Regions from separate parts of the Homo sapiens genome. Here all the other regions are linked to region 7. The links are contacts of gene promoters, found by promoter capture Hi-C in blood cells and fetal thymus (Javierre and others, 2016). All regions are on one chromosome and are shown on one strand. The core of a region is centred on a gene start or on the middle of the fragment in contact, and the rest is flanking DNA. Distances in the headings are between cores, read along the strand shown.

What was found. Contacts are between HindIII fragments. The CHiCAGO score rates a contact against its expected background, and 5 or more counts as called.
Region 1: a contact is called between a fragment that was not itself captured here and the fragment with the promoter of DAD1 in region 7, in 1 of 17 cell types (naive CD4 T cells). The highest score is 5.3, in naive CD4 T cells.
Region 2: the fragment with the promoter of BCL2L2 here is called in contact with the fragment with the promoter of DAD1 in region 7 in 1 of 17 cell types (total B cells); the score reaches 5.5 in total B cells.
Region 3: a contact is called between a fragment that was not itself captured here and the fragment with the promoter of DAD1 in region 7, in 2 of 17 cell types (non-activated CD4 T cells and activated CD4 T cells). The highest score is 6.2, in non-activated CD4 T cells.
Region 4: a contact is called between a fragment that was not itself captured here and the fragment with the promoter of DAD1 in region 7, in 6 of 17 cell types (total CD4 T cells, non-activated CD4 T cells, naive CD4 T cells and 3 more). The highest score is 11.1, in total CD4 T cells.
Region 5: a fragment that was not itself captured here is called in contact with the fragment with the promoter of DAD1 in region 7 in 1 of 17 cell types (monocytes); the score reaches 5.3 in monocytes.
Region 6: a contact is called between a fragment that was not itself captured here and the fragment with the promoter of DAD1 in region 7, in 6 of 17 cell types (fetal thymus, naive CD4 T cells, non-activated CD4 T cells and 3 more). The highest score is 7.3, in fetal thymus.

The regions. Positions count from the first base shown.
Region 1 is chr14:21,720,869-21,724,458 of GRCh38, reverse strand. It overlaps TRA and TRAV3. Among named protein-coding and RNA genes, the nearest start is that of OR4E1, 49 kb to the right of the region's middle. The HindIII fragment of the contact is 239 bases long and covers 1,872-2,110 here.
Region 2 is chr14:23,305,553-23,309,072 of GRCh38, reverse strand. It overlaps BCL2L2 (BCL2 like 2), which reads right to left and starts at 2,240. Exons shown (of 4, transcript NM_004050.5): 1 at 2,179-2,240; 2 at 1,794-1,881; 3 at 874-1,313; 4 at 1-257. The coding sequence starts at 1,305. The coding sequence ends at 108. It overlaps BCL2L2-PABPN1 (BCL2L2-PABPN1 readthrough), which reads right to left and starts at 2,240. Exons shown (of 8, transcript NM_001387346.1): 1 at 2,179-2,240; 2 at 1,794-1,881; 3 at 874-1,313. The coding sequence starts at 1,305. RefSeq lists an enhancer at 548-1,381. The HindIII fragment of the contact is 2,126 bases long and covers 868-2,993 here.
Region 3 is chr14:21,878,870-21,882,555 of GRCh38, reverse strand. It overlaps TRA. Among named protein-coding and RNA genes, the nearest start is that of OR4E1, 210 kb to the right of the region's middle. The HindIII fragment of the contact is 5,895 bases long and covers 1-3,686 here.
Region 4 is chr14:21,844,998-21,848,881 of GRCh38, reverse strand. It overlaps TRA and TRAV8-2. Among named protein-coding and RNA genes, the nearest start is that of OR4E1, 170 kb to the right of the region's middle. The HindIII fragment of the contact is 4,315 bases long and covers 1-3,432 here.
Region 5 is chr14:23,326,516-23,330,157 of GRCh38, reverse strand. No RefSeq gene overlaps it. Among named protein-coding and RNA genes, the nearest start is that of PABPN1, 6.9 kb to the right of the region's middle. RefSeq lists a silencer at 1,876-1,965. The HindIII fragment of the contact is 1,983 bases long and covers 1,177-3,159 here.
Region 6 is chr14:21,824,965-21,828,737 of GRCh38, reverse strand. It overlaps TRA and TRAV10. Among named protein-coding and RNA genes, the nearest start is that of OR4E1, 150 kb to the right of the region's middle. The HindIII fragment of the contact is 3,707 bases long and covers 1-3,455 here.
Region 7 is chr14:22,587,974-22,591,627 of GRCh38, reverse strand. It overlaps DAD1 (defender against cell death 1), which reads left to right and starts at 2,404. Exons shown (of 3, transcript NM_001344.4): 1 at 2,404-2,681. The coding sequence starts at 2,471. RefSeq lists enhancers at 2,124-2,765, 2,766-3,407. The HindIII fragment of the contact is 712 bases long and covers 2,127-2,838 here.

The sequences.
Region 1 (3,590 bases), core at 742-3,241, 870 kb after region 7:
AATTGTAGTTTAACATAATAAGTGACATATCCTGGAAGCACACCGTTCTCATGTGAAGGAACAAAGACTTCAAGAAAATGGGCTTTACCAGACTCAAGAGTTTGTGTTCTGCTCCCCCTGCAGCCCCTATCAGTGTGTGTCTCTCACAGCACAGAAGTACAAAGCGGAGTCGCTCACAAGGGCAGATGGTTTCTTCAGGTGGAAGGAGGTTTGGCTCTTGTTAAATTCAGCTTCAAAGCCATAGCTGCCTTTAACCAGGTTATCCCCTGTGATGTATTTCAGAAGGAACTGGAGGCCTCGGTTGGGGTATTGAACATACCAAAAAAGATAAGGGTTTCCAGAGACTGAATAGGTGCATTTCACAGTCAGAGGATTCCCTTCAGCAACGTTGACCTGATCTTCCGGCTGAGCCACTGACTGAGCTCTCAGCCCACCTGTAAATTAATCATGCTGCATCAGTGAAGCTGCTGGAGAGCATGTAAGTGGATCATGCGAGTGGAAAATGGGAAGGGGATATTACTCACTCAATGTGAAGAGCATCGCAAGCATCGAGATGGGTGCAGAGGCCATGGCTCCAGCTAAGCTCACGGCGGGCGGGATTGGGGGGGTCCTTTCCAGCCCACCTCTGCTGGAGATATGGCCCCACCCCAGAGAGTGGGCTCTTGAAGAGGAACCAGCAACCCTGTGTCAGCACAGGGCTTTTGGAAATGGCCCTTCCTCAGGGCACTGGTGCTTCCCGACACCGGTATCTTCTCTCTGTGGAGCACAATTTTGATCCAGCTCCTCAAAGCTCTGTGAGGAGCAAGACTGCCGCTCCGCCTATGCCCAGGACAGACCTTACACTGCATCGCCCCCTAGAGCCCACACGTAGGACCAGCGACTTTACTGTCAAGCAGCTGGTGCTTCCTGGCCTTATCCCTGGGCCAACCTTTGGATGGTTACACGCTCCATGAGGGACATAGGGAGCAAATTAGGGGTTCAAAGGAGAAGAAATAGAAGTTTGTGAATCAAAGTGGAAAAGATTCAGGCTGAGTGGATCAAGCTGTAAATGATTTGTGCTCTCTTAAGATAATGTAGAGACAGAAAGAAGGGAAATAGGATGGGAAAATGCACAGAAAAAGAAAGGAAAATATAGCTTTGCATCAAGAGGGAGAGAAAAATTTAAAGTGAGAGATAAGAAAAAGCAAAATAGGAGAAAAGAGTAAGGCAAGAGAAGATAAATGACAGGCGAAAACAGGAGCCTTGCTCTTCTCGTTAGAAGTAATTCAGAGCTGGCTTCTGTGTAAACCTCTTTGACCAAAAATAACTCAGAATTTTCTCCACGTTGGGCCTATTAGGAGCCCATCCCATAATGATCTTTAGGGCAAAAAGAAACTTGAATCTTCTCTTTAAACATTTTTAGAGTGAGAAAAGTACGAATAGGTGTTATAAATATTTTTGGAGCATTTGTCATATTAAACAGTACATATAAAACAAAAAAATGAAACTCTGAGAAGGGGTTGCAAAACAGGTACTTTCCACATGCAGAGCCTACTTAAAACAGACTTCAAATGAAGTACGTATTCAGCAAAAAATGTATGGTTAACGAAACTTGATGTATTATGATGGGGAAAAGGGGTTCATTGGAAAGGGATGGCATGCTAAAGTTTTATACTAAAAAAAGGCAACAATAGCAACTGAGTGATTCTTTGATAGATTTTAATTTTAATGTAAAAAGCATGTATCAATATAAAGAAGTTGTTCCTCTGATTTGCCTTCTGTTTCTTTTGAATAGTGTCCAAATAATGTTCACTATATATTCTGAGGAAAGGATGAAAAATCTCTTTGCTTTGAATCAGAAAAAAAGTGGAACATAATTCTTTCTAAAAGCTTTGCTAAAGATCTCATATTTAATCATTGAAAACTTAGCCATATAATAATGTTTTTCTTTGGAATTGGTAAACTGTCTTTAAACAATAATCTTCAAGTTCCAGAGAGACTTGTCATAAATGGAAACATATAGTGAATTTCTTCTCTTTCTTCTCTCTCTGCCTCAAGCCTAAAATGAGTGTTAGTGTTGTCTTTTTGAGGGTCCTGGCAATCGCCTCGAGAAAATCATTGAAAAAAAGCTTAACAAAAAGAATATTTTTAAGTGTATGTGCAAAATTTAGGGAAAACTACAAGGGAAGGTGAAGCACCTGGGGCTAATAACAGCCAGAAGATTTCACCACTCCTAGGCCCAAAGGGACGGGAGAAGATGAAATTACCCTAATCTCAGGACACCTGTAACTAATCACAGGCCAAAGGCGACATGACCCTTTACAGTCTAAATACCTCTTCTTGACCATATTCTGGGTAGACCCAACAGGAGCTGTAAACTTCAGTAGAGGAAAGAAAGGATCCTAAAATGCAAATATCTTGACCACTCTCTCCTGCTAATACCTCCCACTGGGGTAAACCCAACCAGATGCCAATGGACATGGGAGACCAGTCCACATAACGTATAGAAGTCAGCCTCCTGGGGTACAGAGCAGGATATAATAGACCTGAAGAGGAAAATGGAGAAATGTCCAGCCCTCTGATGCTGGAGTTTATTGCTGCCCTACAAATGCATATACGGGCATAGCTATACTGCATTTTGACAAACATAAAAAGACAAATAAAATAAGTTTAAAACAATAGTCTAATATAGACTTTAGTACAGAGCAGGATAGAATAGACCTGAAGAGGAAAACAGAGACTGTCCAGCCTCCTGACACTGGAGTTTATTGCTGCCCTATAAACGCATATATGGGCATATATCAACATATGATATGATCAACATAAAAAAGCAAATAAAATAAGTTTAACTAAAACAGTAGTCTAGTGTAGACTTCAGTGCCTTGATTATTTTTCCAATCCCTACTTCCTCTGACCTCTACAGATACAGCACACAAGATTATGCCTAGATCGTGCAAGTGGCTGAGATATTGTTTGCCTTCATCCATTTAATAATTAATGCCAAGAGCCTCAAGTGAACTAAATATTTAGGAGACTGATATTTTTAATTTTGTGCTAGAAATGGTTGATTGTTTAGTGGTCTCCCCCTAAAGGATACTTATGGAAGGAACTAACCATATTTATTAATTAAGCATGTTCAGCTATAGAAAGAGGAAAGTTTTCCTCTGAATTTATGTCGTGGTTAGAAATGGGTAGTCATTTGCAATGACAGAACTGTTGCAGAATCCTTAATCATCTTCTTCTTAATCTTCTTCTTCTTCTCGTCTTCTTCATCTTCATTTTCTCCTTCTCCTCCTCCTCCTCCTCCTTCTTATTCTTCCTCAAAACTAGGACAGTTTAGTCTTCGTGTTTGCTTCCAGTTAAAGAACTGCCTTTTAACTGCTCAGCAGATAGAGAAGGATTCAGGGACCTCCACATAATGCACTGCACACAAAGTAACCAGCAGCACCCAAAGAATTCCATGGGCCTAGACTGAAATTTCAAAATTGAACAACATAGCCTCAGTAGCTATTCAGCTTATCTGCTTTGATTTCTGAGATTAATTAAGAAATTATTCATCAAATGTCGCCGTGAGCATAACATTAAACCCTTTACATTCTTTGTCACATTTA
Region 2 (3,520 bases), core at 991-3,490, 720 kb before region 7:
TCCATGCCCACCCATCCACCAACTCCACTTCTTCCAAGGGCATTTCTCTGTTCTGTTCCTGCTCTCCTGGCCCCCAGCCACACCTAGCCCCACCTGGCCCTGGACTTTCACTTGCTAGCAAAAAAGGCCCCTACAGTTACCAGGGCCCCCAGTGCCACGGCCCCCGTCAGCACTGTCCTCACTGATGCCCAGTTCCCCTCCCGCAGACGCCGCGCCTCCTCCAGGGCCCCGTCCCCGTATAGAGCTGTGAACTCCGCCTGTGGGAGAGAAGGGAAGCAGGAGAGAAAGAAGGAGAAAGGGATATCAGGAGAGGAAAGAGTGGAGAGAAGAGGAGAGGAAGAGTTCCAGTTCCATCCACTGCGAGCACTACCCCATACCCAGCTCCTCTCTGGCCAAAGCTCTTCTCCCTGCAAGCCCCTCTGATCCCCCCAGGTGCACCCCCACCCTGAGAGACTGGTTCATCTGCCCACTCTGCCTCCAGTGAATTCCATCCTTTCCTTGGCGAAAAATTCTGCTCAGAACTAGCATCCTTTGCCAAGGCTTGCCTGACCACCACCCATCCCTGGTCCTCCCCACCTCCCACGCCATGACTCAGATGTAAAAAGTCCCTGACAACATTCCCCTGCAGGCACTCCTTGGGTGTGTATTCTGTCCTCTGCTTGGGACCATGAGCCCATCCAGTGTTGACTGCATGGCAGCCCTGGAGTGCAGAGTCCAGGCATCTCTCAATCTAATTCCATCCAGACGGGGAGACTCAGCCCCGTACCTCATTCCCAACATAGCTGCCTCAGCCTCCAATCAGAGCCCCCATCTTCCCCCTGGAGACCAGCTTTGCAGAAGGATGTGCAGAGCGGCAATTGAGAAGCTTCTTACCCAGCCCCCACTGCTGTGGATCCAGTCAGCCAGCTGCGTCTCCAGGTAGGCCACCATCCACTCCTGCACTTGTCCCACCAGTGGTTCCATCTCCTTGTTGACACTCTCAGCACACAGTGCAGCCCCAAAGACAAAGAAGGCTACAAGGCGGCCCCAGTTGGGGCCCCCTTGAAAAAGTTCATCGGAGACCTGGGTGAAGCGTTGTTGGGCTGAGCCTGGGGTCACATGCAGCTGAGCCGCCAGATCAGAGAAGGTGCGCCGGAAGCGGGTCTCGAACTCATCTCCAGCTGCCCGCATGGCTTGGTGCAGCGGGTCAGCTGCTGGGCCCTCCCCGGGGCCAGCTCCACAGACATAACCCTTCTGCCTCAGCTTATAACCTACAAAGTCTGCCACCAGAGCCCGTGTGTCTGGGGCCGAGGCTGGGGTCGCCATCCGGGCGGCTATAAGAGGCAAGGATGAAAGACTGGCATGAATATATGAAGAGAGAATCAGAAGGAGCACTTCTGGTTTGACCAACCCAGTGAGATGAGGAGGAGAGAGGAAATGCTCAGGACTCACTGGACAGGGAGAGGCAAGAACAAGGGAATTAAGTCATGATATGAGACTAGGCTGTGAGTGGCTGGCCATTACATTCCTAATATGCCAAATTAAATGTAAAACAAGTAAATTTTCTGTTTAGGATACTTTAGATTCTTTTCACAATAAGACAACGTCAGCTCAATGACACCCCTACAACACCCCCACCCCCGGGTCTCCTTAGTCCACACCTTCTTGGCTAGAGGAAGGGTCTTAGGACCTCCCCAAATGCAAGATGTAAAGATGTTGGCAGAGACACAAGATGAGGGGGAGCAGATGGGCTGAAGAGAAAGGTGGGAGACGCAATGGGTTACTCCAGACAGAGAAAGGAAGGAGACACTCACCCAGCCGGGATGGCAGCTCTTAAGACACAGCACTGGTGGCAAGGAGCCCCCAGCTGGGGCCTTTCATCCTCCTGGCCAGCGTGGAGCCCTGGAAAGGGGAGGGGGAGATCAGAACCAGGAGGGGAAGGCCAGGGATCAGGTTCTGGCCTGGGAAGGGCTAGGGTTGCAGCTCTGGGCCTAGGCCCCTGCCCCCAACGCTCTACCAGCTGTGTGGCCGAATCCATGTTTAATGACTGTCCTCCCGGGAAACCCAAGGCCAAGGGCTTCCTGCCGACACCATCTCTATTCCCGGTTCCCCCTAGTGCAGCCCAAAGGCCCAGCTCCTCCCTTACCCCCACCTCAGCCAGTCTCCAACCCCGCCCGCCTGCCAGGTTAGGGATCTCACGGGTCAGGCCGCTGCCGGGATCCGGGCCGTTTCCTGGTGCAGGAGCTGGGAGGGAGGGAGAGAGGGAGGAAGGGAGGGAAGGAAGGAGGGAGGAGAAAGGGGGGGGCAGAGGGAGGGCCCGGCGCCGGGTGATGATGGGGCCCAGAGATGCGTCCAGAGAGAGGGGCGGGGCTGGGACGCAGGCCTGCAAAGGGCCACTACTCAGGAAGAGGGAGGGCTGCTGAAGGCAAAGAAGGGCTGGCTGAGAGGGCACGGTGGGCTGGGCTGGGCTGGGCTCCTGAGCCTCTAGGCTGCCCAGAGAAATATGCCGGACTTCGGGACATCTCGGGGCAAATTTAGCATTTTCAGGAGGTTTCCGATGTTCCATGCACTTGTTGAACTTTTCCAGCCCTGAACTGTGTGCCTGGAAAACAGGAGCAGTTCCCATTAAGCTGGGAACCGTCTACCAGGTGCCTTACCCTTATGGGGCTAGCAGACACCACATAGACACCAAACCTTTCCCATCTTTTCTCCAGGACCTTTAACCCAGTGTTCTCTTTGTGGGCTGGGCTTCAGCCAGGCATTAGGGAGCCAGGACTTGGATCACAAGCAGTTTCTCTCGGTACTTTTCTTTAATTCATCTTCTTTTGTAATTAGATTGATTTTAGTGGGGTTTTTTTCTTTTTCTTTTTTTTACCCAACACACAAACTCATTCTCATTATGAAAAAAATCAAACAATAAAGACGTGCGGAGTAATAAAATACAGGTTCTCAAACACACACACACATACACACCCAATTCCACTTCCCTCCCTGCAGGTTGCCAGTGTTAAGCTTGATGTTTATCCTTCCAGATTACATATATATGGGGCCATTATTTATACATGGCAGTATATTTATACAGGGCAGGTCACAGGCGTGAAGCAGTCTGACCATAGCTGATCCACATGAGGGCACTCACAGCCAGCCCCCTGGGCTCTTGGATCTGGCACTTTTTTAAAGAGTGCCCCAACCAAAGGCCAGAAAGAGGCAACCTAATTCTCCTATTCTGCTAGCTCCCTTTGCTTCTACCTCCAATCCAAGCCTCTGTATTACCATCTTCCCTTATGGTCACTGGAGAAGCAAGGTCTTTTCTGCAGCAATAACAGTAACAACTAGCTGGGTTCGGTGGCTCATACCTGTAATCCCAACACTTTGGGAGGCCAAGGCGGGTGGATCACTTGAGGCCAGGAGTTCGAGACCAGCCTGACCAACATGGCAAAACCCCATCTCTACTAAAAATACAAAAATTAGCCAGACGTAAAATACAAAAATTAGCCAGCCTGTAATCCCAGCTGCTCAGGAGGCTGAGGCATGAGAATCA
Region 3 (3,686 bases), core at 677-3,176, 710 kb after region 7:
CTTTTCAGAGTTAGGCTTGCAGCAATCAACCTTAAGGGATGAGTTAATGACTCCCTGTACGACAAAGAGCAAGCTGGCTTACTGTTTACTGTTGCTATAAATTTCCCAGGCTCAGAGTTCCTCATCTATGACACAGCACCACTGCATGCAAACTACTCATCAGCACTCACTGTATCATCTTTTGGGGACTTAAGGAAAGAGTAACTGAAGTGAACTTACTAATGTTTAGGCTGTTTGCTGTGCCATAAGTAACAAAATCCTTTGTCTCTGACTAAGGAGTCTCATGTCTTTACTGAAAACCTGGATGAAACAACACACTTATTAGCTTGCAGGAAGAGGGAAAAAAAACCAAGAACTGATAACACCCTTCTCTACTATAGTAAAGGCTTGAACTACATGTGAGAAAGATAAGTTTCTCCAAACTAGTCTGGAAGAGACCTTTTTTTGAAGGATGTAATGTATATAGCCCCATAGGTAATTAACCATCACTTCCAATAAAATGCTTGAGCAATTTTATAATATACTTTAATGAAATAAAGACTCCTTCTGGGAAATTAGTGTTACCAACTCAAATGACTATTAATCTTTTGAGAAGCCTAATAGCCACTACACAGATGGTCAAAAGCAGGGTAATTATGAACCAGTCCTTTGAACGTAAATATCTTTAAACCAGATCTTTTAAAAATCTGATCTACAACACGTCTACCAAGGCTATTTATTTGAATTTGTTTCCTGAGGGGCATTTACTCTTACAGTAATTTGAATTATAACTTTGACTTCAGCTCATAATTATTGGACTTGAGAAGTTACTTTTATACTTTCTAAAATGTTTTAAGTGTTTTTTTCTTCATTTAGATATTTCATCATGTGTTACTAGCCTTTAGAGTTGACTAAGTGCTTCAGATCACATCTGATAAAGTGAGGTCACTTTAGTGAGGAAAGGCTGAGACCCTGAATGGATCTAACTATTTGACCAGAGTTCACTGAGCACAGAAAGGCTGGGTTTTGAGTCTGGGAGCAAGGGTGAGAAAGAACTGAGCTGCCCCACATAATGAAGCAGAGAGAACACAAAAAGAGGTCAAAGTTGCTAGGGTGAGACTGAGAGGAAGGAAAAAAGGAAAGAGGAGGGCCAAATAACATCCATCCATTTATCATTTAGTGAATATTTTTTTGACTGACTATTATAGGCCAGTCATTATTCTAAGCACTAAGAATAAAGCTGTCCACTAAACAAACAATACCTCTGACCTCGTAAAGCCTGTATCCTAGGTGGAGATATAGACAATAAACACATTGACAATAAACACGTAGACCAACAATATAACTGCACATTATGATTATTACCGTAATGAAATATAACAAGGGTGTTGTAATAGAGTTAGGGGAAAAGCCATGATGGCCACATTAGTCAGGATGATCAGCAGAAGTCAGCAGGTTTTCTCTATAGCAGTGGTATTTGAGCTGAGACCTGAGGAATGAAAATGAGTCAGGCTCACCAAGATTTAGGGTAAGAGCACTGCAGATGATTGAGAGAGTTAGACTAAATGTGGAAAGGACATGGCAAGTTCAGAAATCTGAAAGGAGGTCAGTGTTTTTGCTGCATAGAAAGCCAGGAAAAAAGAGTTTAAAGCTGAAGGGACAGGGGAGGTTTGAATGATACAGATCTTTGTATGCCACAGCCTAAATTTGCATTTTATTCCAGGAGCAATAGAAAGCCATTGAAGCATGTTTGCCAATTAGAGACATCTCTTTATTTATACTTTAAAAAATCGTTCTGGGAACCCATCAGATGGGTGCTTCTCAAACTTTGAAGTGATAGAATCACCTGGGAATGTTAACGAAATGCAGATTCAAATTCAGTCAGCCTTGGGTGGAGGCTGAGCATCTGCACAAGTCCAGACAGTGCTGGCCCCGACTCTGAGTAGCAAAAGCATGGAGAATAGATTGCCTTGAGGAAAAAGAGACCAGTTAGTAGGTTGGTGCAAAAATAATCGCGGTTTTTGCCATTGAAAGTAATGGCAAAGCCACAATTACATTTGCACCAGCCTAATAGAAGGTAATGTGGGCCAGAACAGTATTCTTCAAACCTTTTAAAAAATCTTATTGTATGAAAGAATATTCTATGTGATGGACTCTGTTTTTAAATCACATTTTTAATAATAAAATATATAAACTCACACTTTAAAAGAAAACTAAAACATTGCTAAAGTGTTTATTAATAAAATGGAAGCTACTTTAAGATAATAATGGTCATAATTGATAAAGTATTGAAAAATCAGCATCACCATGTGCTGCTGTTGAAATTACACTTTGGTGAAATATATCTTCAGGAACATTAGGCATTTAGTGTTATATGTTCTCCCTTATTCAAGCAACTCTATTTCCATTAAAATTACAAATTTAATTATGTTTTTAAGAAGCATTATCTATAACACTGTATAAGAGGAAATAATACCAAAAGTGATAAATTTTTTAAAATATATCTATATAATGGAAACTAGGCAATCACTTAAAATTATGCCCTCTGGGTGCACATCAAAAGTGGATTGGATAAAGAAAATGTGACACATAAATACCGTGGAATACTATGCAGCCATAAAAAGGAATGAAATCATATCCTTTGCAACAGCATGGATGCAGCTAGAGATCATTTTCCTAAGCAAATCAATGCAGAAACAGAAAGCCAAATACCATATATTCTCATTGATACGTGGGAGCTAAACATTGAGTGCACATGGACATAAAGACTACATGTAGATACTGAGCATTACTAGAGGGGGAAGGAGAAAAGGGGCAAGGACTGAGAAAATAACTGTTGGTATTATGCTCAGTACCTGGGTGATGGGATCATTTATACACCAAACCTCAGCATCATGCAATATGCTCAGGTAACAAATCTGCACATGTACTACCCCCTGAATCTAAAATAAAGGTTGAAAATAAAAGAAAATAAAATAAAACTGTGCCTTCAATATAAGCTTCCTGGGATGAAAACACCTAAACATAATGTTGAGAAAAACAAGCATGGTAATAAATACTGGATATATTGCAAACCACTTTTATAGAAAAAATAGCTACATATGTATACCAAAATTTTTTACAGGATAATAGTTATAATTTCTTGATTATGAAATTATAGGTGTGTTCTATTTTTCTGGGTGTTTTATGTCTTTATATATCATTTTATATCTTTATATATACATATAAGTAATAAAAATGTAATTTAGTTCAAAATTACAACACACAACTCCTTTTCTCAAACACCGAATCCCGCTTTTCATCTTTCATGGAAAAAGCAACTGACAAGGGGCCAGAATGCCTGGCTTCTACTCCAGGCTTCCATTTCACTGCAACACATGCTTTGAGTAAAGTGAAGCCATGCCTGTGGAGCCTGCTTTTTTTCATCTATCAAATGAGGGGCATGAGCTGGAAATGTATTTTCTAAAGTGCGATTGATACAGGAGGTCATATTAGGCAGAACACAGATGGTCTTTCTGACTGTTATATATGTAACATTATTTTAATTTGTATTAGGAAAAAATATCTTGCACATCAAATGCACATTTTATAACATATATGTGGTCCCACTGATAGTATCTATTAAAGTAAGGACAATATTTTACATATTTTTGGCATCTATTTAATAGAGAAATCAATTTAATGTTAAATTAAGTAAATTATGGAGT
Region 4 (3,884 bases), core at 26-2,525, 740 kb after region 7:
TTTTAGAACTGAGAAATACAATATCCAAAATCAAAATGTCACAGTAAGGGCTCAATAGCAAAATGAAAGTGATAGAGAAAAGAATAACAAACTTGAAAATAGACCAGTATAGGTTATCTAACCTAACTAATTTTGACTTTGCTCCCCTCAGGAGACATTTGACAAATCTAGATAGAAATTTGGGTGTCACAACATGGGGTATGTAATGCTACAGGGATCTAGTGAGTAGAGGCAGACCTTAAAATCAAGAAAAAAATTGAAAGAAAACAAAATAGAGCTATGGAGAGCTAGTGGGAAAGTGTCCTAAAGTCTAAGTTGTAACTAATGGAGTCCTAGAAGGAGAAGAGAAAGAGATTGCGCCAGAAAACATATTTGAAAGAAGAATGGCCAAAAACTTACCAAATTCAAAGAAAGACAAACTTATGAATTTAAGCCCCAAACAGGAACAAATTAAAGGGAACCACATGTAAACATCATAATTATACTGAGGACAACAAAAGATGATATGATTTTACTTGCGTGTATGTGTGTGTACAAATAGCATATATATGAAGCAGCTAGAGAAAAACAACATATTAATATCATTGGGGAACAATTACTTGAATGACCATAGATTTCTAACCAGAACATGGAGACCAGCAGACAATGAAACAGTATCTTTAAAGTGAGGGGGGAAAATGGTTGGCACAGAATTACAGACCCAGTAAAAATATCTTCCACAAATAAAGGGCAAATTAAGAATAAAGACATCTTCAGATAACAAATGACTAAAAAATACCATTACCAGCAAACCTACTCTAGAAAAAATGTTAAAGGGAGTTTTTTAAGTTTGAAGGGAATGACATCAGTTCAAACACATCTCCTGGTGTCAGAGGAAAACTTACTTTAGAAACAAAGGAAGGATACCAGAGTTAGTAAATAGCTGTTAAATACGAAATATTATTATTCCTAGTGAGTTTTATACGGTCCATACAATTATTTAAAACAAAAATTGTACCATTATATGGTGAGCTTTCCAATATAGGTAGCTTTGATATACATGAACGACTACAACAAACTTCAGTGTTTGTTGAAGAGACAATTATTATTGTATAATAAAGAGACATATTATACAAAAATTTCTACATTTTACATAAAGAGGTACAACATCACAGAAGACCCTGGAGAGTTAGTCATATGTATTATAATCTCCAGAGCAACCACTCAAAAAATATGGAAATATAACCAAAGAAGTCCATAGATTAAAATAGTGTTAAAAATGTTCAAATAATCCAAAAAGTGTCAGCAAAAAAAAAGAACAACAAAAAATAAGGGAGGAACAGAAACACAATAATAACATAGTATACTAAAATCCAATTTCATCAATATACATTAAATTATAATTATCTAAACTAGCCAGTGCAAAACCAGAGATTGACATAGTGGATAGAAAGACCTTATATATAAAGCTACCTAAAGGAAACACACTTTAAATTTAAAGTCATAGATAGTTTAAAAATAAATAGATGAAAAAGATACAGCACACATCAATAAGCATCAGAAACTTGGAATTGCTATTTAATATTATAAAACAGACTTCAAGGTCGAGTTCTTGAGTCACAGAAAGTCTCAGCATCTCAGGAGGCTTGTGTTCAGCTCTCCTGCAGTCTCAAGCACTGTGTCACTCACAACACAGAAGTACTCAGCCGCGTCGCTCATATGGGCTGAGGGTTTCGTCAGGTGGAAGGAGGTTTCACTCTTCTTAAATTCAGCCTCAAAACCGTTGATGCCTTTAACCAGGGTGGCCGCTGATGTGTACTTCAGGAGAAGCTGGAGTCCTTTGTTGGGGTGTTGCACATACCAGAAGAGAGACGGTGAATAAGAAGATGAGTAGTTGCACCTCAGCAGCACCGGGGTTCCTTCAGAGACAGAGACGTGGCTGTCAAGCTGGGTCACCGACTGGGCTCTGGTTCCTCCTGCAACACCAATGCTGTGTAAGCAAAAGCAGCGCTGACTTCGCTAAGAAGTCTACTTAGAGGCAATTACAACACAGTCACATTTACAAAAGGAGGAAAAAGAATGGAATGTTACTCACCCAGGGTAAAAATCACCTCGAGCACTGGGACGAGCAGCAGGAGCATGGCTGAGCAGAGGCAACGCTGCAGGACCCTGAGCAGGGAGGACAGAAGCCAGGGGTCCTGAGCCTCGGGAGCTAGGAGCAATGGGGAGGTTGGGCTGGACAAGTCCCTGGCTTTGAAAAGTTTCCAAAACAGAAAGGCTTTCTCTTAAGGAGTCTGGATGTGTTCTGACCTCTTGCTCTCGTCACAGCTCCCTATCTACACAGACATCAGTGAGCTACATCAGCCAGCTGCAGGGAGGAGGCTCAGTGGATGAGGATGGTCGGCAATGAACACAGATGCCTCCTTAGTGCAACGTCGCCCCCTGGAGGGCACAGGTGGAACCACAGATCCAAGGAAGTGAACTGTTTCCTTCTCATTTGAGAGATGTGATATCAAAACCAACAGAAAGTGTTTCTTTCTTCCCGAATCTGTGATGACGTCATCTTCCGTAGAGTATATGGTTTTAATTTTAAATACATGAGAAATGAGAATTATGTAGAAATAGAAGAGTAATTTACTTCCCTGAGAAATTAGTCACAGAAGACAACGTTGTAGACTTTGGAAAACCATTGAGACACTCTATATTAGTAAAGTCGTTCATCAAGAAGAGGGGTGGTGATCAGTTGTCTCAGTCTGGGCTGAGCTTCATATGGCCCTGTGCAGCTGGATGTGAGCATTACAGTGGGTGAAAGAGATTATTCCTTTAGTTGACTCTTTAAAAAATAAATTAGATCAGAGACTCATACTTAAAGTCAGCCTGGATCACATATCATTAATTAATCAAAGCAAACGATTAAAGGCAAGAATTTTCTTTGTCAAGTGGAAAGTGTGGAAAAGACTTCCTAATTTCAGGTCAACAAGTTTAATATTTGTGAACCTAGGAGAAAATAATTTAGATAACTTATATTTAAAAAGAGAAAGTGAGAGTACTATTCCAACTGTCAGTGTTCAGAATAGACTGATATATTGTGCCAAATTATGAGAATCTGCCACTAAAAAAAATTAATGCAGTTTTTCTATCTCCACAATTAAGTTTCTCCATCTATAAAGAAACTTGAACAGAATGATAAATGGAAGAAAATATAACATATAAATAAGTGATTATCAAAATAGTTAAAGAGATTTTTAAAAAGTAAACCTACATGAACTCAATACAGGTGGAAGGAGTGCAAGCAGCAGACCAGAAATGAGAGGAACCTGTGAGAGGTGTAGAAATGGTGAGAGATATTGACGGTGACGCTCAACAGAGCAAAGCAAACAGCAGTGCCATGTGGGTGGGAGACAATAGCGAACAAGAACAGACTGCTCTGTGCCCCAATAATAAAATGAAGCTTTTGAGCAAAAAGCCTTCCCCACCCAATCTATTGTAGCATAGAGATCATTGGATCCTAAAAATGAAATAACCCAGTAAGGAGAAAAATCTCAGGTAAAATGGGATTTTACAAGGTCAGAACAAAAACTGCTTTCTGAATACTCCATTGAATTGTACCAGCCTGAAATCAGTTTTCCCTTGGGCTTCTGATCTAGTTCTTGATTCTGCCTATAAATTTTTTATCACATGTAAGACAAAATTATATAGTCAGCTTAAAAATTTAAATGTTACTAGGGTGGGGTTCTGAAACAAAACTTCAAACTAAACATATTTGCTGTCCTCTTAACTCTCTAAAATTCCCACTGAAATGAAATGTAAAATTATAAACAGAATGACCTGAATCCATCAATAATAAAACTAATAAAAAGATGAAAGTTATCACAATTCCCATGAGGTAGATAAAAAGTGGATGC
Region 5 (3,642 bases), core at 919-3,418, 740 kb before region 7:
AAAACCCACCAACTGTTTCTTTTCTCCATTGCCAACGTCGGATTGGGCAAATCCTACCTTAAAAAGCACTGGCTTGCCTCGGTTTATTTTGCATCATCCAAAGGCCCTCTAAGGATCTCTGACTCACAGACCCTCACCCCAGACAGGTTTTATACACAGGCTCTCCCAGTCTCTTTCTTCCCATGGAACTCCAGTGAGATTGGGCTCATTTCTATCCCTCAGTTAACAGAGAGCCGATCAGGAGTGACTGACAGAAATCATCCACCAAAAATAACCAAGCTTGCCCGAGGAAAGTAACTTTCTTTCCATGCTTCTTCCTCTAAACCTAGTCTCTTTTAAGTAAAATAGTCTGACTCTTATAAGAATAAAACTAAAGGCCGGGCATGGTGGCTCACGCTTGTAATCCCAGCACTTTGGGAGGCCGAGGTGGGTTAACCACGAGATCAGGAGATCGAGACCAGCCTGACCAACATGTTGAAACCCCGTCTCTACTAAAAATACAAAAAATTAGCCAGGCATGTGGCGCATGCCTGTAATCCTAGCTACTCAGGAGGCTGAGGCAGGAGAATTGCTTGAACCTGGGAGGTGGAGGTTGCAGTGAGCTGAGATGGCACCACTGCACTCCAGCTTGGGCGACAGAGTGAAACTCCGTCTCAGGAAAAAAAAAAAAAAAGAGGAAGAAAACTACCAGCTCCAGGTAAAAGGCAACACTATTGTTGTTACCGCCTTCTCCAGGACAGGAAAGGCAAGCCCAGGGTGAATAAGCAACTTTTGGGCACCTACTAAATGGCAGGCCCTGTGAGGCAGACACAAAGTCACAATTGATGCCCTCAAGAAGCTTGCATTCGGCCGGGCGCGGTGGCTCACGCCTGTAATCCCAGCACTTTGGGAGGCCGAGGCGGGTGGATCATGAGGTCAGGAGATCGAGACCATCCTGGCTAACAAGGTGAAACCCCGTCTCTACTAAAAATACAAAAAATTAGCCGGGCGCGGTGGCGGGCGCCTGTAGTCCCAGCTACTCGGGAGGCTGAGGCAGGAGAATGGCGTGAACCCGGGAAGCGGAGCTTGCAGTGAGCCGAGATCCCGCCACTGCAGTCCGCAGGCCAGCCTGGGCGACAGAGCGAGACTCCGTCTCAAAAAAAAAAAAAAAAAAAAAAAAAAAAAAAAGAAGAAGCTTGCATTCTAGTGGGAAAACAGAAATGTAGTTAGTTTCATTATAAAACCACAAAGTAAATATTAAACAGGGATAGGAACAGTTTGTCCTGACTGCAGGAGTGATTACTTCTGACTTGGAAATCAGGAAAGGCTTCATGTCTGTTGTACCTGGCTTACACTTGGAAGGATATGCGTGATTTTCATAGAAGAGTTGGAATGAGCATAGCAGGCTAGAGGGAACAGCATGAGGGATACATGAAAATAAATAACAACTACAATGCATAGTACATCAGGTGTAGGGCAGGATCTGGAAGAGAAATGTAATCAGGATCAGATTGAAAAAGGTTGTAGTTCCATGCTTGTGTTTGGACTTTGTACTTATTGGTGGCATCATAGAGGGCTTTTTTTGGCAATAAGAAGTTTGGAGGCTGAGCATGGTAGCTTACGCCTATAAACCTAGCACTTTGGGAGGCCGAGGCAGGAGGATTGCTTGAGGCCAAGAGTTCAAGATCAACTTGGCCAACATAGCGAGACCCTATCTTTTAAAGTACTTTTTTTAGGAATTTTTATTTTTCAAAAAAAAATTTGAAGCCAATACATCTGCCAGGACCCCTGCAATGATGATGGGGAGTTACTCAAGCAGTGAAAGTAGGAATAGAGAGAACAGACAAGATATGGTAGAATTGACTGAATATGGAAAACTAAACCAGAGAAGGGTCAAAACATGATTCACCCTCCAATACCCAACAATTTATGGGGATCTTTTAGAGCCAGCCATTTAGTGCCCCCTGGTGGACAGATGAGACCATCACAGCATTAACAGCAACAAGTCACTTAGGCTGTTTCATTCTTCCAGTAAAAAGTTTATATTGAACACTATCCAGACCCTCACTAATCAGCCTCTGCAGAAGCCACAGAGATCACGGCACTATTTTAGGTGAATCTAGTTAGGAGAAAAGATAGACCTCAAATGCCTAACCCATAACAGAAAGTAGAATAAATGACCAAATCCTAAAATATGTGGTGGATAACACTGACATGAGATTTTAGAAAATACTGCAATTTGAGAGGTGGGTTAAGGCTTCAGATATAACAGAGTTTTTTGTTTTGTTTGTTTTGAGACAGAGTCTCGCTCTGTCACCCAGGCTGGAAGTGCAGTGGCTGAGTCTCAGCTCACCTCAATCTCCACCTCCTATGTTCAAACGATTCTCCTGCCTTAGCCTCCAGAGTAGCTGGGACTACAGGTGCATGCCACCACACCTGGCTAATTTTTGTATTTTTAGTAGAGACGGGATTTCACCATGTTGGCCAGGCTGGTCTCAAACTCCTGACCTCAAGTGATCCGCCCACCTCTGCCTCCCAAAGTGCTGAGACTGCAGGTGTGAGCCACTGCGCCCGGCCACAGAGCCATTTCTTTAACATATGATTTTTGAAGAGCATCCAGGTCAGAGGCAATTGTGAACAAAACATCCTGAGAAGTAAATGAAAAAATAGTAAGGTTGAAATACTAAGAAATTCTATAGGTAATGAAGTCTGAAGGTTCAACCTGGCTAGTGATGTAGTGTTCAAGTTTTAAGACCAATCTGACACTGGAATAAAAAATGGAGAAATTAGGATGCCCAAGACAAAATTTAGATATGAAAACAGTGAAAGCCAGTTGTGAAGTCCTAATAAACTAATCCTGGCCAGGAGCTGTGGCTCACGCCTATAGGAAGGCCAAGCCAGGAGGACTGCTTGAGCTCAGGAGTTTGGGACAGCCTGGGCAACACAGCAAAACTGTCTCTACAAAAAATTAGCCAAGTGTGAAGGCAGGCACCTATAGTCACAGCTATGTAGGACACTGAGGTGGGAGGATCACTTGAGCCCGGGAGGTTGAGGCTGCAGTGAGCCACTGCACTCCAGCCTGGGTGACAAAGCAAGACCATCTCAAAAAAATAAATGATCCAATTAATATAAGTTAGCTGGACACATTAAATGGTTACTGCATGGTTGGAAAAACAAGCTTTCCGATTGTCTCTTAGCTAAGTGTATTTTGTCTTCTGCATTTCTTGGGCCCACCTTGAGGTAGAAAAGGTAGCTGGGTGCAGTGGTTCACACTTGTAATCCCAATACTTTGGGAGGCTAAGATGGGAAGATTGCTTGGTCAACATAGCGAGACCCCAAAGACAAGGTTACCCAGACCCCAATCCAAAGCTCTAGGGCTGCAGGCATGGATAGTTCATTTGCACGTAAGCTGTATCAGGAGCACACAAAAGCGCCATTAGGTCAGTAATTCGGCTATTCCTTTTTTTATTTTGAGACAGTTTCACTCTGTCACCCAGGCTGGAGTGCAGTGGTGTGAACTTGGCTCACTGCAAGCTCCACCTCCTGGGTTCACGCCATTCTCCTGGCTCAGCCTCCCGAGTAGCTGGGACCACAGGCACCCGCCACCTCGTCAGGCTAATTTTCTGTATTTTTAGTAGAGGTGGGGTTTCGCCATGTTAGCCA
Region 6 (3,773 bases), core at 353-2,852, 760 kb after region 7:
AACTACCATTAGTTGAAAAATTATTTTCTACCAATGCAATTCAATCATTTAATTAAATTCACTTAACTTAATTCAATCCTTATGACCATGTGATGTACGTGTAATTACCATTGATGGCGCGTAGGTGCTCTGAAGTTATGTAATTTTGTCCAGAGTAATGCAATTTAGTAAGTGATAGATAGAGCATTTCAATGCCTGTGCCTTTTACTCACCATATGAAACCTGCAAACTAAACTAAACTAAAGCAAGCAAGGAAATGCCTATATTGGAATGCAAACTTCCCAAGATATTCCTGTAAAAGAAAGTGAACGCAATAGACAAACATAGACTCAAGCCTCGTAATGGAAGGTCTTTTGTGTCTGCATTTATCTATTTTGTTTATTACCCTACTCCTTCTACCTACAAAAACACCTGTCACTTATTATTTGTTTTTTATTTCGTTTTGTTTTGTTTGAGACAGACTCTCATTCCATCGCCCAGGCTGGAGTGCAGATGTGCAATCACAGCTCACTGCAACCTCCGCCTCCTGGGTTCAAGATATTCTCCTGCCTCAGCCTCCCTAGTAGCTGGGATTACAGGTGCATGCCACCATGCCTGGCTAATTTTTGTATTTTTAGTAGAGACAGGGTTTCTTCATGTTGGCCAGGCTGGTCTCGAATGCCTGACTTCAAGTGATTCGCCCACCTTGGCCTCCCAAAGTGCTGGGATTACAAGCATGAGCCACGGCACCTGGCCTCATTATTTGTTTAATAAATAATTGTGTAATGAACAAATTCAATGTGTGTCTCTCCTTCAAGACCTAACTAAATTTGCTATTCCCCATGATACTTTCTCCTATCTTTTCTGTCCCACAGTAATCTCCTCCTGAGAATACCTTTAAAACTTATTTGTCCACGTACTTGGAATTTTACCTATTGATTCCATTTTCATGTATTTTATCTTTTTCCTCAATTAGTTTATGATTACTCACACAAGTCTGCTGTAGCAGCAATCTGAACTTTAATTTCTTCACTCTAAAGACTTGAAAGGAGATACAGGACAGGAAAAAATATCTGATTACTGAATATATCTAGGTTTACTTTTTGCTCCAGAAGTCAAGGCATTTTGATGTCTTGACACTTGAGCTATCTCCAGACTAGTTACAAAGAACAGTCCAGGTCCTGGCTTCATTTATTCACAAATTATCAATTCACTGAACTTGGAAATGAACTTACTTGCAGTGCTCATAAGCATAACAAATCAATCTTATTCAACAATATCCTGAAATGTGTGATCATCTTTAAATATCAATTCCTGTGAGTTGATAGTGACAGATGAGATGCATTCCTTTAAATTTTTTAAGACATTTGTTATTTTTTAATAATCTTTATTTTGACAGAAGAAAAATCCGAGAACTATAGAAAATTAAAAGTACAGAAGACAAGGAAAGATAAAAAGTAAAAACATTATATTCCCACAATACAAGGATTACCATTTTTAATATCTTAGTATATATTCTTCCCATTTTTTTACAGTTGATATCTGCCTTTTAAATAAGTACTTTTCTCATCTAATTCTCAAATTATATGTACATTTCTCTAATTGTCCCAAAAAGAACTTCACAGCTAAGTTGTGAAAACCAGAGTTCACAATTGCAGGTAGGCATTCTGTCCCTAAGTCTCTTTTCTAGAACACTGATGGTTGAAAAGCCTGGCACAGTTGTTCTGCTGCCTGAGAGTGACTGTGTCTGCCAGGATCCCCTGGCCTTCCAGTGTCCTCTAAAGGAGCAGTGATGGAAGATAATAAAGAGTTGATGCAGCACCTGGACAAAAGCCTTGATCTGGAGCATAGCTAAATGGGAAGAGCAGATTTATTCTCACAGGATGCTTTCTGAGAACTTGAATAGCCATGAAATGACAACTGAATGTCTTTCAGGGGAAGGAAACTTCTCAAGATATTTCCGGCCAGGAGCAGTGGCTCACGCCTGTAATCCCAGCACTTTGGGAGGCCAAGATGGGTGGATCACGAGGTCAGGAGATCGAGACCATCCTGGCTAACACGGTGAAACCCCATCTCTACTAAAAATACAAAAAAATTAGCCGGGCGTGGTGGTGGGCGCCTGTAGTCCCAGCTACTCAGGAGGCTGAAGCAGGAGAATGGCATGAACCCGGGAGGTGGAGCTTGCAGTGAGCCGAAATCACGCCACTGCACTCCAGCCTGGGCGACTGAGTGAGACTCCATCTCAAAAAAAAAAAAAAAAAAAAAAAAAAATTTCCATCAGCCACATAAACTTGTTGCTCTTTCACTTAGTTGACATTCTGCTGGTAGGTGTCCAGATCAAAAACCAAGCTAGTCTCTCCCTTCCAAACAACACTGTCATCTACTTCAGCAATAGTAACACAGCATGACAGACTGTCTTGCCCTTGGGAACACCCAGATGTAGCAATTAACTTTGTGTGTTGAGTGAGAATGTCTTTATCCTCGCTTGAGGACATGTATTCTACTTGAGCCTAAGTAGAACTTTAGGCTCAAGCTCAAATCAAATCATGTCGGAGAGATAAATATTCACTAGTGAAATCATATTCTGCATAAAAAATAACGGTCTACTCTAACTCCTATGCCTCCTTGATAACCTCCAGGTGCAGGTTTGCATACTGGCTTCAAGTGCCTGTGGAGCACAGTGCGCTCACCACACAGATGTAGGAGGCTGAATCGCTGAGCTGGGAGGCTGTGATGTGCAGAGAGCTTTGCTTTGTGTCTGCATCCAGAGTTGCTGTATATCTTCCGTTCGACTTTGTGTTCTCACTGAAAGTCATGATTGTCAGGGAAACAGGACCTCTCCCCGTATCTTGCTTATACCACCTTAAGTTGCTGAAGGGGCTCACTGTATAATTGCATTGAAGAGTGCAGTTCTTTCCCTCCAGGATGATCAGGGACTGAGGACTCTGCTCCACTTGGTTTTTGCCATTCCCCCCTATTCAGAAAGAAAAGTGAGATTCAAGAGATCCATCATCCAGTATTAATACTGTCTAATTTGCATCCCTTCCTTACTCCCCACAATGAATCCCAAGTGAAACAGAAAATGGTCCCATTTTCTCCCTTCCTCCTATCCCAGTGGACTACATCTTCACCCCAAATCCTAAGAAAATATTCCCTTGACTTACTATGTTAACTTTGCTAAAACTCTCCACTAACTTACTATAAAAATAAAGCCACAAAATCACCAAGAAGGTCGTCAGATGCTTTTTCATTTTTATTCTGCAGAGATCTGCTCCCAGAAGTTGACTTGTGTATTCAACATCTTCTCTTTTTTTTTAACACTAACCAAAGGGTTTCTCAGAGGGTATCCCTAGCCAATCAGAGACCAGGCTTCGCTATGTTACACATACTACACATTCAGACCTGCAGGCGGGGCGAATGCAAATACTGCCCTCTTGGGGTCAGAGCTACAATTGCTTAGAACTTTTGATCAAGCTTTTTTCCTCCTATTTGCAGCATGATATAGAGGATAAAGCCCTTCATGTCTATATCAGCACAGTAGATTAGTAATTTAGACATATATTTGAAGCTCTGCATTCTGGCTCTATGTGATATTAAATAGGAGAGTTGAGCCTTAGCTTTCTCATCTGAAAATAGGTATGATAACACTTACCTAACAATTTTTGAAAGATTGAAGAGATGATTCATGTAAAGGCTTATTGTAGTGGCTAACATGAACTTAGCCTTCAACTGAAATATAAGCTCCCTTAGGATAGGGACTTTTATCTGTTCTATTCTCTGCTACATTGTCAGTT
Region 7 (3,654 bases), core at 1,155-3,654:
TTTTCTTGCTGTTTTAAGTAGTTCAGAAAAGCCCTAGTGTAGTATATTGGTGTGACTAGCAGGTCTCAGAAACAAATGCATTCAATAAGTCCATTTGGTGTTTTTCATCTCTTCTTCTCTCCTGTGAGAGTTCCTGGGGAGATCTTAATGATGATAGTTGACATGGATCAAAGGCAGACAAAACATAAGGGAGAAAACACTGGAAGGAGCCTGGCTGATGGAACAGAAACTCCCTGAAGAATCCACACCTGAATGATTAAAAAGCATCAGCCTAGCCTGTAAAGTTTGAAGTTGAATATTCGTGAGGAAGCTACCCTCCTACTTGTTGATGAGGCAGAGAGAAAGGTTCAACTTGTCAGAGAAATTGATGCTTCCTGCCATATTATATTGAAATAAGAACCAGCTTGTTATCCACTCTTTTTTTTTCTTTCTCAGCAACATAGGTTTAGGCTGAACTTATGTTCATATAGCTGCACAAATCTCCACGGGTATGAATATAAATCTATCTATTCAAATAGACTCTAAAGGTTTCTTAGGTTATTTCTCTTCTTTCTAGAACTTAAGTAAGGCTTTGATCACCACTGATAATACATCCGTTAGTTAATGCGTGTAGAGTTTCCAGTCTAAAGGCAAATAAAAAGTGAAAAGGGGCCGGCGCAGTGGCTCACTCCTATAATCCCAGCACTTTGGGAGGCTGAAGCAGGCAGATCACCTGAGGTCAGGAGTTCAAGATCAGCTTGGCCAACATGGCGAAACCCCGTTTCTACTAAAAATACAAAAATTAGCCGGGCGTGGTGGCAGGTGCCTCTAATCCCAGCTACTCGGGAGGCTGAGGCAGGAGAATGGCTTGAACCCAGGAGGTGGAGGTTGCAGTGAGCCGAGATCGCACCATTCACTGCACTCCAGCCTGGGTGACAAGAGCAAAACTTCATCTCAAAAAAAAAAAAAAAAAAAAGTGAAAAGGCAGGAACGCTGTTGTTCACCTGCTGTTTTAGGAATTTTGCTCACGTACAGTTCAAAATATTAAGAAGCTGAAAATAAAGTACCTGGTCATGTGTGGAAAAACTTACAGCTAAAAGGTGAGATGAACTGGGTCTAGAAGGTCGGATTCACGTGAAATTAAAAGGGCAACGAAAGCCAGAACTTAATTTCTTAAAAAAAGTTAAAACAGGCCGGGTGCAGTGGCTCATGCCTGTAATCCCAGCACTTTGGGAGGCCGAGGCTGGCGGATCACAAGGTCAGGAGTTCGGGACCAGCCTGGCTAACAATGGTGAAACTCCGTCTCTACTGAAAATACAAAAATTAGCCGGGCGTGGTGGCGCGTGCCTGTAGTCCCAGCTACTAGGGAGGCGGAGGTTGCAGTGGGCCGAGATCGCGACACTGCACTCCAGCCTGGCCGACAGAGCAAGGCTCCGTCTCAAAAAAAAAAAAAAAAACAGTTAAAACCCTCAAAATAATCCCACTTGTTAAAATACAAAACCTGAAACCATTTCAGTTTCTTCTGCAAAATGAGTTGGAGAGAGTAGGGTTGAACCAGGCATGCTCTTTCGGGCCTTTCGACGCTGACATCCCGGGATATTACACCAGGTTCAAGATACCAGCTTGCGGAAAGAGAGCTGCTAAACTTGACCATATGCTTTTTGCACGACATTCGACAGCTGTCCCTCCCTTCACCAGCTCTTTTAAGGCTGCAAATATATCTGATTCACGTGAGAGTCCCTACAAGTTAGTACAACGTCAGGCCCCAAGGAGGCGCCCAATAAATGTTGGCATTGCAGGGCCAGATCCCGAGTTCCAGTTCAGAACCCTGCTGAGGTCAGGCTTCCTCCCTGCCTCCCGCCCCTCACCACACCCACTCACTCCCCCAAGTAATTAAGTCTAAACTGGGGCCTGTGCAGTGATTGGCCGCGCCGGGTCTCACTGCGGATGAACTTGACTTGTTCCAATGATCTGTGACAGACATCTGCAGACAGCGCCCTTAACAGAATTAGGGTCAGGCTGGTATCAAACCCCAGGAACGCCAGGCATTGCCTCAAAGTAGATGCAAACCGTTAAATCTTCCAGGACTCAGAAGGACCAGAGAGAGCCGGATACCTCTGGTTAGCTACGCGGTCCCCAGTAAAGCTTATTCCCCTCTTCCTCCCAGTGTGTCTTGTTGCCAGAGCAACTGTGGGCGTCACCGAGCTGACGGGCGGAAACAGAACAGAAAGAGTACACGTCCCCAGCTCATTGATAGGGCCATTGCGCAGACGCATTAACTTTTCTGAGTTGTAGTTGAGTCTGTTGATGCAGTCCGCGTCTGCGCATTAGTTGTTACGCGCCCTGGCCGGCCTCAGCGCCTGCGCAAATTGGCACACCGGGGAGGGCGGAGTTAGGTCACGAGGGTGCGCATGCGCAAACAGCACATCCGGTGTGGTCGACGGGTCCTCCAAGAGTTTGGGGCGCGGACCGGAGTACCTTGCGTGCAGTTATGTCGGCGTCGGTAGTGTCTGTCATTTCGCGGTTCTTAGAAGAGTACTTGAGCTCCACTCCGCAGCGTCTGAAGTTGCTGGACGCGTACCTGCTGTATATACTGCTGACCGGGGCGCTGCAGTTCGGTTACTGTCTCCTCGTGGGGACCTTCCCCTTCAACTCTTTTCTCTCGGGCTTCATCTCTTGTGTGGGGAGTTTCATCCTAGCGGGTAATGGTTCTATAAGTGATCATAATAATAATGTGTTACTTTGGTGTGCTGCTTTTGTTTTCATAGTACTCTATATCAGACCACCGCCCCTTGAAGTTATGAGAAGAGCCTGCATTGCCCTTTTGTTGTGAATGGGGAAATTGAGGCTCAGAAAGCTTAGATTATATGCCTAATACCAAACGGCTCCGTAGGAGTTGGACTTAAAAGTCTAAAGAAACCACCTTCGTGCCGCTACTCCACTTGGTGATCCACTTCACTTAATATTGGTCCGGGGAAAACCCTATTCCAACTTTAACTTAGGTTTAACACAACTCTAAAATTAGTAGACTTTTCAAATGAAAAACCCAACCTTGAATCATCTCTGTCATCTTGGCCTAATCATTACCAATCTCCGGTGAAACGTTTCAATGAAAGTGCAAAGAATATAAATACTGGTGCTTTTCTTGTTGAATCATCCTTTACTTGATTTTGCCTTTTAGCTGCTACTACTTTTTTTCTTGTTGAGGAAGCTGTTATTTCACTGTCCTGAACCCAATTTTTGTTCACATAACTCTATTTTAGCCTTATTTTTCCTTTTGATTCCAGGATTTGGTAACCTTGTAGACTGCTATATTTAGCGAGAACAGTCTCCATCAATTTTTGTTAAAATCTGACTTTTCTTGCCCAACGGGGATTCAGTGAATACTGAAAACAGGCGTGGCCTCTATCACTGGTATCACCTGCTACTTTGACTTTGAAAACATGCCAGCATTCATGGTTTCTTTTCAGTGTGATCATCAGTCAGGTCATCAGTTGTATTTTCAGTCCAATATGAGGCATTATGGTAAAAGCTTTGGCACATGTTCTTTATCCGTAAAGAGTTTATGGTCTAGTTGGGGTACAGACAAAATACAGCATTGGAATTGTCTGGAGGCCTGGCACAGTGGCTCATGCCTGTAATCCCAGTACTTTGGGAGGCCGAGGTAGGCAGATC